Regions from separate parts of the Homo sapiens genome. Here region 1 is linked to region 2. Evidence: promoter capture Hi-C in human tissues and cell types (Jung and others, 2019). All regions are on one chromosome and are shown on one strand. The core of a region is centred on a gene start or on the middle of the fragment in contact, and the rest is flanking DNA. Distances in the headings are between cores, read along the strand shown.

Evidence for each region. Contacts are between HindIII fragments. The study calls those that stand out against the background at their distance.
Region 1: a contact is called between a fragment that was not itself captured here and the fragment with the promoter of RREB1 in region 2, in 1 of the 25 tissues and cell types used here (mesenchymal stem cells).

Annotation. Positions count from the first base shown.
Region 1 is chr6:6,829,412-6,834,838 of GRCh38, forward strand. No RefSeq gene overlaps it. Among named protein-coding and RNA genes, the nearest start is that of LINC03055, 54 kb to the right of the region's middle. The HindIII fragment of the contact is 5,235 bases long and covers 1,477-5,427 here.
Region 2 is chr6:7,106,276-7,111,670 of GRCh38, forward strand. It overlaps RREB1 (ras responsive element binding protein 1), which reads left to right and starts at 1,686. Exons shown (of 13, transcript NM_001003699.4): 1 at 1,686-1,785. RefSeq lists an enhancer at 495-554 and silencers at 905-1,384, 1,445-1,664, 2,455-2,944, 2,965-3,054. The HindIII fragment of the contact is 13,967 bases long and covers 1-5,356 here.

The sequences.
Region 1 (5,427 bases), core at 2,844-5,343, 270 kb before region 2:
CGAGATTGCGCCACTGCACTCCAGCCTGAGCGACAGAGTGAGACTCCATCTCAAAAAAAAAAAAAGCTTTATATGTAATGTTAATATTCTATGAGAGTAATATGATTGAATAATTTTAGTTATTTTTTCAAATCTTGGCTTAGCATGTGATTTGAAGGTCATATTTTGATATTTGATTTTAATGACTGTCATAAGTAAAAGACGTGCCTCACAAACATAAGTAGGTCCAAATGAGGATCTTGGTACATTGGTACGTATCTTTTAAACCTATCCACCATATTAAGCAAAAGGTGTATTGAAATTTGGCTGTTAAGTATCAGTCTTCACTAATGTTGATTGGCTATTATTAAAAATTAATCAGAAGTTGTTGTACTTTATACTTTTAACAAATGTCTTTAAAACTCACTGAAATTTTTTATTTGACAAATTGGGGGCAGAATAGAAAATTCTTTTTCCATATTTTTAAAGAATGCAGGTACGAGGTCTATATTTAATAAATATCATTTTCAGCTGAAAGGAAGGACGAGAAGGAAGGAAGGAGGGAGGAAGGAAGGCAGGGAGGGAAGAAGGGAAGTAGGGAGAGAGGAAGGGAGGGAGGGAAGGACACTGCAAGATTTAGAAATAATCTCAAAGACCTGTTTTCAACATGCTCTCACTGCAACATAACTTTCTTTTGAAAATCAATTATTCTTTCACTCATTATTAAAATGTCATCTGTATTGAGAAGAGACAAATTAAGTTGTTCTTAATTTTCAAGATGATTTTCTACATAGCTTATATCTACTGATAGCTACTCATCAGAACAGGTCAGAAATTTTGGAATTGCTGTCAAATCTGCATCTTCAGATCTGACAAATCTCCTGAGAGCTTTGCCTTGAATAAACCTCTACTTGAAATACATGTTTCCTCTCTACTTCCCATTTCATAAAACGTGAAAAGATTCTACATAGAAGTCAGTTATATGCTATGCTACATATGTATATGTATGTATATATGCATATGTGTGTGTATATACACACACACACTTATTTAGCCACACCACGACCTCCTTGTAGCACATGAGCTACATGTGACAAGTCATTGGCAGATGTGACAAGTCATTGGCAGTGAACATGAGTGAGCATGTCGTTATCTGTCAGTCTCTCAAATTGTCAAATGCCCTCTCTCCTCACAGGGCCGTATATAGGAATGATCACCTGACAAACAGATCAAGTGAAACTACCAGTGTTAATCTACATATTTTCAATTAATCAGCCAAGCACAGTGGCTCATGCTTGCAATCCCAACACTTTGGGAGGCCAAGGCAGGTGGCTCACTTGAGCCCAGGAGTTCAAATCCAACCTGATCAACATGGTGAGACACTCTCTCTACAAAAAATACAAAAATTACCTGGGCATGGTGGCACACACCTGTAGTCCCAGCCACTCAGGAGGCTGAGGTGAGAGGATTGCTTGAGCCCAGGAGGTCAAGGCTGCAGTGAGTCACAAACACACCACTACACTCCAGCCTGGGCAACACAGCAAGACCCTGTCTCAAAAATAAATAAATAAATAAGAAAAAGAAAAAAAAGATTTAATTAAATCAATCAAGTTCAATTTGTTTCATAATTTTAGTTTAGAATACATTGAAATCAAAATTCCAGCTCTCCTGGAAACTCCTGCAGAGGGCCCAGGATCCAGCAAAGAACATAAATGTCTGCTCTGGGAGCCTGTGTTCAATCCCACCTGGACCATTTACTGCTGTGCAGCCCTGAGTAAGTCCTCTAAGCACTCCATGCCTTGGTTTGCCCATCTACAAAGAGAGATAATAAAAATTATGATCCTATGCCGGAGGTTGGTGTGACAATCAAATGAACAAATCCATGTAAAGCTCTTAGATTTTTTTTTTTTCCTGAAACAAAGTCTCTCCCTGTCATCCAGGCTCTGGAGTGCAGTGGCGTGATCTCGGCTCACTGCAACGTCTGCCTCCTGGGTTCAAGCAATTCTTCTTCCTCATCCTTCTGAGTAGATGGGATTACAAGCGCATGCCACCACGCCCGGCTAATTTTTATATTTTTTAGTAGAGACGGGGTTTCACCATGTTGGCCAGGCTGGTCTCAAACTCCTGACCTTGTGATCTGCCCACCTCGGCCTCCCAAAGTGCTGGGATTACAGGCGTGAGCCACGGCTCCCTGCCAGCTCTTAGATTTTTTAGTTTACAGTGGAGATTCAAAAAACATTAGCTGTTATGATTATCACATGAAATAATTTTGTCCTTCTACAAACTGGAAGTACCTGGTGGCTAAGAAACCAGTTAGAGGACTGTTTCTCTTATCCAAACAAAAGAGGATTGTGGCCAAAACCAAGGAAGTGGCAGCGGGGTTGGACAGAAGGAGAAGGATCTGAGAAACATTTGAGATATTGAGTCAGTAGACTTTTAAACTGTTATAATATCAAGAGAAGGAAAAAAGCAGTCAAGTGTGACTTCGAAGTTTCTAGTGCATGTGATTAAGGAGTATTAGCTGAGAAAAGGAAATAAGGAAAGGTCTAAATCTGGTGGAAAAGAAAAACTTATTGAATGCTTACTATGTGCCAGGAAATATTCTAATCGTTTTCCATCCATGAAGTCATTTAATCGGCGTAACAACCTTGTGAGATAGATGCTATCCCCGTTTTATAGATGACAAAACTAAGCCATAAAAGGTCTGTAACTTTTCCAAGGCTATACAGCTGGGCTTCTAACCCAAGGTATCCAACCCAGAGTCCATGACCTCCACTGCCCCACACGTAGACTTTCTTAGAGATAATGAGTTCAGTTTAGTTTGAGGGACATGGAAGAGGCTATGTGGAGGAGTGGGTTGAATGTAACAGTCTGAAACTCGTAAGAGACGTGGAGATAGCAACCAAGCTTGAGATGCCAGATTCACCAGCATAGAGGTGGGATTGCAGCCACAGAAGGGCACATGGGAAGGAAGAGAGATCGTGTGCACGGGAAGAGGCCTGGGAGATATCCCTGGGGACATGGATGCTCCCGACCTGCCCACAAGGGTGTCAGTGTTAGCTGCTTTTCATTGTGGATGTTTGCCTATCATAATAGCTTTATGCAAGGGGGTCTTGGGCTGCTCCGCATCTGAACCCCTTTGCCATATTGGGGAATCTGCCTCGGTCTTGGTGGGACACACACCTTCCACTACAGTAGTCAGAGAGCCAGACATTTGCTGTTCCTCAGCCCTGGAGGCCAAGCCTGAACAAACAACATGTGTCTGGCCAATCTAACAGGACACTGAGTCCTCAGCAAGTGACACAGAAGCAAAGAATGGTGCCACATGCGTTCCACCTACAGCAATGCCTGCACTGTCTTGGGGTGGCAGGGGGGCCCCCTAACCTGAGGCACAACCTTGGCTCCGAATTCCCTTGGCTTCCCCTCTTTTTCTTGCAGTTGTTCTCTAGTCTTTCTATCTGTTCTGTGAACTTCTTGGCTTAGTCCCCTAAATGTCTTTCTCTAGAGCAGTTTCTCTTGTTTAACTTGCTCTCTCACTGGTCCAGTACCAATGCTTAGATAATTGGTACTGGATAATTCCTTAGATAATTCTGTTTTCCTTGCGCTCCTTTCTCTCCATTGTAATAGATTGTGGAAGTGGTTCTATATTTTCACCTAAAAACGTTCCTAAGAAACAGTCACCTCTGAGATTTAATTGTAGGACAAAATACATCCATGAAGAATGATTACCCTTAATCAGAACAGTTATCCAAATGTACAAATGGAATAAGTATGAGTTCTTCCACCACACGTGGAGTGTAACAAATGTCTTACCAAATGTACAAATGGAATAAGTATGAGTTCTTCCACCACACCTGGAGTGTAACAAATGTCTTATTGCACTTTCTTAATTAAATTCAATCCCAGCACCACTTGCCAAGGTTGGTTACAATGGCTAATATCAGGCCGGGCGTGGTGGCTCACGCCTGTAATCCCAGCACTTTGGGAGGCCAAGGTGGGTGGATCGCTTGAGGTCAGGAGTTCGAGACGAACCTAACCAACATGGTGAAACCTCATCTCTACTAAAAATACAAAAATTAGCCAGGCATGGTGGCGGGCACCTGTAGTCCCGCTACTCAGGAGGCTGAGGCAGGAGAATCGCTTGAATCCAGGAGGCAGAGTTTGCAGTGAGCCGTGATCGTCCCACTGCACTCCAGCCTGGGTGACAGAGTGAGACCCTGTCTCAAAAAAAAAAAAAAAAGGCAATATTCATGATCTACCATCCTGGAACATGTAGGACTCCCAGGGCTTACTCACATCAGAGAAATGGGGAAGGGTTCTGAATGGCCTTCAGCTCTGAATGGTCACTATTTCTTTGCTGCCCATAGCCACTGCCAAGAGCAAGTTCTCCCTTCTGGCGTGCCCTGCCACCCTGGCAGCCCCTCACAACTGTCCTCCCATCAACCACAGTTTCAGCCATGTAGCCTTGCCAGCGTCCCCAAGGCCGCAGGACCCAGTGGCCAACCTCACTGTCCTATCCACGCCAGGTCCTTGGAAGTGCTGGCCAAGGGGTGCCCTCATCCAGCAACCTGTGGGTCCTGGAGGTCCTCGTGCACAGATGGCATCTCCAGCCTCCTGACCCTCAGGATGGCCTTCCACACACACAGCCAACACCTGTGTGAGGAATCCAGCTTCTTGCCCCTTCAGGTCCCAAGATAGCAGAGAACACAAGAACCCCTCAAAAGAAAGCCCCTAGCTTTTCCTTATGGAGAAAGTGGAAATTACCTCTTTCTTGTGCCAACGTGCCTCCTAGGGAAGCAGATGAACAAATATACAATAAAAATCTCAGTTCCAGAGCCAATGTATTTCAGAACAGCCCTAAAAACGCAATTTATTTTTAATAAGAATTACTTTTGAAGCAAAAGTTATGTTGATAGATGTTCTGTCTGCAAGTAAAAGAAGTCATCCTAGTGTAAGCCAAAACTGGGCACTTTTTTTGGTCAATGCAGAAATAGAGCCAGACCTCTGAAAAGATTGGAACCCCAACCTGGAAGGCTGCCAAAACCTCCGCGTACTTTTGCCTTGCCTATGCTTTGCTCTGCACACCTGCTTTATTTTGCTCTCTGCAGACCACTTGAGCTCCCCAGAGTATTGCGGAAGAACGTGCTCATAGCTCCAACGCACATACTCCCACTCCCCACCTCCACCTCCCTCCGGAAAGATTCATTCTGTCCATTTCTCTTTCCCCTTTTCTTTTCTTTCTTCTCTCTCTCTCTCTCTCTCACACACACACACACATTTCTCTCTCTTCTCTCTTTTTGCCTCCTCTCTCTCCTATCACTTTCTCTCTCTCGCCCATCTCTTTCTTTCTCTCTCTCCCCTCCCCGCCCCCCACCATCCCTGCTAATTTCCAAGTTCCGAGAAGGGACTCTCATTGGTCCAGGTGGACTCAGCTCTCTCTCTCTCTGG
Region 2 (5,395 bases), core at 436-2,935:
ACTAGAGGTCAATGGAAGGGCTCAAATTAAAGGCCCACAGTTGGGCTTACAACTCTCCATGGTGTTCAAGCCTTCTCAGAGGAGCTGGTGTGGTGGAGCCAGGGTCAAAGGTCATAGTAAATAGAAAGTAGCCAGCTTTCTGCCTGCATAACATCATCTTGCCTAACCAGACTCAAACGCTTAATTCTACTGTAGTATTCTTTGGACATTCTTCTTTAGAACTACGGGGGCGGGGGGGGGGGGGCGTGTTTATTTTCAACAACCACAATCATCCTTATCTTTCTGAAGATGTTTCCAAAGGCTGAGAACAGACCCCTTTCAGAACCTCGGTAGGAGAAGTATTAACAGTTGGAAACATGTCAGCTGCTTTATGGAGGAAGCACAGCCCAGGCCTGGTTTCTCTGGGCTCCGTGATAACTTGGGGCAAGGCAGCCAGTGCGAAGCGTGGTGGCAGGAGCTGGAGAGATGGAGAGCGGCTCGGAGAAGGGCCCCTGCTTTTCAGAGTTGAAACAGGAGCCCTCTGAGAGAAAGAGATACTGCGTGTGGCTTCTCTGAAGCCTTGGAGGGCGACGTGGATGACACAGCATCAGCCATTCCATCGCGGGGTGGGGACACAGTGGCGGCAGGAACCGTCCTCAGCCCCTGGCGGCCACGGCAGTTCCCCGCTGAAGCATCCTTTGTGGGGTGTGGGTAAGGGAGGGGGACCAAAGTCGGGTCGGAGTTGAGTTTGTTAGACGGCGAGCACACTCAGGGCGGCAGCCCGAGTAAGAAGGATGGCCCCGGGAGAGAAACGGCTCGAAGCTAGGGGCGGGGTGAAGCGCCTGCTCCTTAATCTCCTGCCCCATCATCCACTCGCCCCACCTGGATGCAGAGCGAGGACCGCGTGGAAAGGAAACGGCGCGGGCGGGGCTCCCCCTCGCAGATGCCTCGGAGACCCAGAGGGGCGGCGTCAGGCCAGGGCCCCGAGCCCTACGCCCCCCATCCCCCCAACTCCAGCGCCTCTGAGGTGCCCCTCTCGCAATTCCGAGGCATCACCGTGTCTCCCCCGCCTCCGTTAAAATAGTGAAACTGCGGAGTGAAGTGATGGAAAGCCGGGGGCGGGGAGTCGCCCGCGGCGAGGGGCTGCAGGGGAGGGGGCGCGGTGGCCGAATAAGGTGGCCCGCGAGCAACGGGACGATTGGGATCGCAGCCAGTCGCGGCCTCCCGGACCCTTCCCCTCGGGCAGCCCGGCCCTCCCATGGCCCGGGGCGCCTTGGGAGGGCGTAGGGCAAACCTGGGGCTGCGGTGGGGGGTGGGGAGGGGACTCCACCTCCATCCATCCCGGGATGGCAACTGCGGTCACCCTGCTAAAGTCGGGGCGGGGGCGGCGGTCCTCCCCCTCACCCCCCCCAGTCCGAGCGCCGCCGCCGCCGCCGCCGCCGCCGCCGCGGCCGCTCAGTAACACGTCCCCAGGAGACTCGCAGGAGCAACACGTGATGTGTCTACTTATCAGGGTGAGAGGGGGAGAGCGAGACTCCGAGCGTGCGGGCGAGGAAGCTGGGCGGGGGGCCGAGACGGGGGCCGGGACGACGGCTGGGGCGCCGGGGTCGCCAGCTCCTCGCCCACCTCCCTCCCTGTGGGAGAAGAGGAGGAGGGGAAGTGACTGCGGAGTTGATGAACTTTGCACATCCAGAAACGCCATTTTGATTCCTTTTCCGGAACAAGTTTGCATCTCTCCTCGGTCTCTCCCTGAAGCCCACCGGTCCCCAACGCATCATGCCAGGGAGCCAAGCGTCCTGCCCGGCCGTAAGTACGTGCCCCGGATTCCGACTCGCGGTACGCCGGCGGCAGCGAGAAGTCTGGGGCACAGCCGGAGCGACCTTTTAAAGAACTTTGGGGATGGGGAGGGTGAAGTCTGCAGAGCGCGTTGTACTTTTGAAACTCGGTGTGTCCCGGAGCCGGGGACCCGCACGCCCCACTCCGCGCAGCGTGCGCTCGGGCCGGCGGGGCGGCCAGGGATGAGCGGGGCAGCCCTCTCCCCTCGGGCTGCGCGCCGGGCCATTCCTCCTCCTCCTCCTCCTCCTCCCCTTCCTCCGCTCTTTTCCCTTTCCCGAGCCGCCGGCTCTGCCAACCAGCTCCCAGCGCGAGCCGCCGCAGCGCCCCGCCAGCAGGACCTGATGCGCATCCATATTAGCCGTCCGAGCGCAGGAATCCGGCCCGACCCGCGCCGCCGAGTTTATTTTTAACCAGCACCGCCGGGACTCGGATGGTGCGCGCACCGCCGGCCAGAAACATCTTCCCAGCGCTGCTCTCCATCTTCCGCCCTCTCTCCCTCGACATCCTCCCCCCCATGTGGGAGGGGAAACTTTTCTCCTACATACTTTCGAGTCCTTCTCGGGCCGGGAAGCGCGGAGATGACGGCGCCCGCCCTCCCGCCGCCGCCCTAAGGTATCCGGGGGTGCCTGCCCGGGGTGCTCGCGCGGGGGTGCCTGCTCGGGGCTGCTCGGTGGGAGCATCCGCCGCGCCCTGCTCTGCGGACTTTGAACCTCCCGGGCGGACGGCGCCGGCCGGGAGGGGGCCGCGGGCAGCCCCGCGCCCTCGCGGGTTCCCGGCTGGCGGTCGTGGTCACGCCGACCACCGCCCCGGGGGGCCTGGGGAGGAGGGGACCGGGCCCTAGCCGTGCGGGCACGTATTGTTCCCTCGCCCTTCCGTTGGCGGGGTGAGTGTTTTCGTGGGAGCCCTCGGTGTGGAGCTAGCCTGCCTCGCGGGCGGGGGGGGTGGGGGGCTCGGCGCCGTCACGAGCACAGGAAGGAGGCCGGGAGCATCCGAGGCGGGGCCGGCCGCCGGGGCCCGCTCCGCCGCCCAGCTGTGGAGCGCGCTCGGAAACTTTTGTCCGCCGCCCGCTGGACCAGTTTTTCACGAGTTCTGGGGCTTCCCTTCCTCCTCCCATCCCGGCCCCCGGCGTCTAGCTGGGTGGGGGGAGGGGGCCTGTTGCTGCCCCCCCCGCCCCCAACTTCCCGCACAAGCCTTGGGCCGGGCCCCCCGCGCCCCCTCCCCGCTCGCGGTCTCTTAGGAAACTGCGACCTTAATGGTTGCTAAGGAGCAGGGGAGGTCCTTCCCGTCGCCGACCCCCTCCCTGGGAAGCGGCGTGTTTTCTGGACCGGGCCAAGGGCGCGTCGAGGATGTGACCTGCTCCGCGGCCGCGCGTGAGTGCGGGGCGCGTCGGCCGAGCCCACCGATGGGCGAGGCCACCTTTCTCTCCGGGCGGGGCGGGGAGCTGGGGGACGCGGGGACCCCACGGGGTGCGGGCCCGGGCCGCTTGACAGGCGCCGCGTGCAGCTCGCGCCCCTCGGCCGCCGTGCATCCGTGATGGGTTATAAAAGAGGAGGAAAGTATTTCTCCTTGCTCAGCAGATTTGCCCTCCCTCGCTCCTTACTGGTTAGGAGATAGAACGTGAGCCCAGATCCGGACGAGCAGTTCACATTCCATTACGAAATTCTACACGGCTTCAGAGCCAGCAGCAGCACACATTCGGGGCACTTTGGAGGGGTTTTCTTCGTTTGAGGATGCTCCTGCTGCTGCTGCTTGTGATGGTGGTGGATGTGGAGAGAGACAAAAGGGTGAATAAAAAAATATAACGTTTTGGTATGTTGAAAAACCTGTCCGGGGGTTTTCATTAGTAGAAAATTGAACCCTCTTAGAGTTTAGATTTAAGCTTAGCTCTTTAAAAGCCAGTGGAAATAAAGTTTGCCTGTTGAATGGTGTTGCTGGAAATAGCGAGGAATTTCTGTCTTAAGAAGAAATGATTTCTGCAAAGGCAGAGTTGCTAGTGCATCTCCATTATTTTTGATATTTTTTTTCCCCTTTATATATGTAGTGGACCCTGCATGTGTGCGAGTTGATTCTGAAATAAGTTTAATTGAAGTGGAAGGTGGGGAAAAGAGAACTGCCAAGAAAAGAATGTGGTTTAGTTTTGTTTTTTCACACCCATGAAAATCATCCTCTAGATTTGGTGCTTTTTCAAGTAGGCAGGTATAGTTTCTAAGACATATTTCAACCCGGAAGTCTGAGTTAGATAGAGGCCAAAGTGTTGGCTAAAACCTCTTTGAAAAACAAACGTTGAGTTTTGTGCTATCTTCAAGAGTCCACAGAACTTCTGAAGGAATGGGTTCGAGCTACTCTACAAGTAATTTATACAAAGACAGAATCACTAATTTTAGGGGTGGTGTGTGTGTGTGTGTGTATGTGTTTACCTCCGCCCTTTGGAGGGAGCCTTCTGGGTACCCGCTGATGGGTCCTGCTTTGATGTGCTTTGAGCTTTGGTTACACTGATGAATTAAACATTTGAATGGCTTTAATCAAGTTTTAAATGTGTTAAAAAAATACCTTTCCCCCATTTTTACAAAAGAAAAGGAGAGAAGAACTCTTTGATTTAGTTATTTGCTTAGCTTGTGCTCCATTTTAGGTTAATGAACTTGCATTGTCTTTGTCTTAAAAATACTGCTAAACTGGTTGCATTTTAGAATGTCTTGTTTTTAAAGAGGATTTGCTGGATGTGTAATACTCTTAAGAAATGCTGCCGATGCTTACCGTTTTGTGGAATATCATTCTCTGGGTTTTTCTAGATACTGCTTTATTTCTCATCAGAAAATCAGACTCTAAGCCCTTATGGCAGACAAGTATTTGTTATGTGATGGGGAACATGCGTCTTATTGAGCTGGTACAGGTAGTGCATCCATTCCTAACTAGTTACATCATCCAACAAGCGACCTTTTGATTGAAGGGTCTTTTAAATTTCTTCGGGCAGACTCCCAAGGCCTTATTTGTATCCAACACAGGTACAGCGTGTTGAAGGAAGAAAATAAACCTACACGTATTAGTCCAGCATCTGATCAACAGCAGTTTATTGGTTACCTGCTGTGTGCCAGGCACTGTACAGTGTAGCTGCCTTAGGTCGTTTTTGCTCTTCAATTTTGAACTGTTGCGTTATTCCACTTCTGAGGTCAGTTAGGAAGTCTTTGCTTGCTATCTTATGCTTGCTTGCTAACATCATTTATCACCTTCAGCTAAGGAAATGTCCTAGTTAATGAAGTTTTAAAATGCTACCCTTTTAGGATTTTGCTCAGCATAATTAATATAAATTTAACTCCTATAAGAATTGGTTAAATATATTCTTTGGAAACAGAAGTGAATTCTTTTGATGTTTCTGTTCATTATCCTTCTGAAAAGTAGGTGGTGCTTAGAAGGTCATAGGATAAGGGTTGCTAAGCAGCTAAACAGAAGGATGCTAAAATTAACCAAAGCATTTTTGAAAGGGAGTCATTCCCTGTTTTACATTATTTACTAGGTTTAGTTAATTTCTGAATCTTCTATGTCCTTTGACCTGGGAAGGTAGGATGTTAAAGTTTGTTTTGGT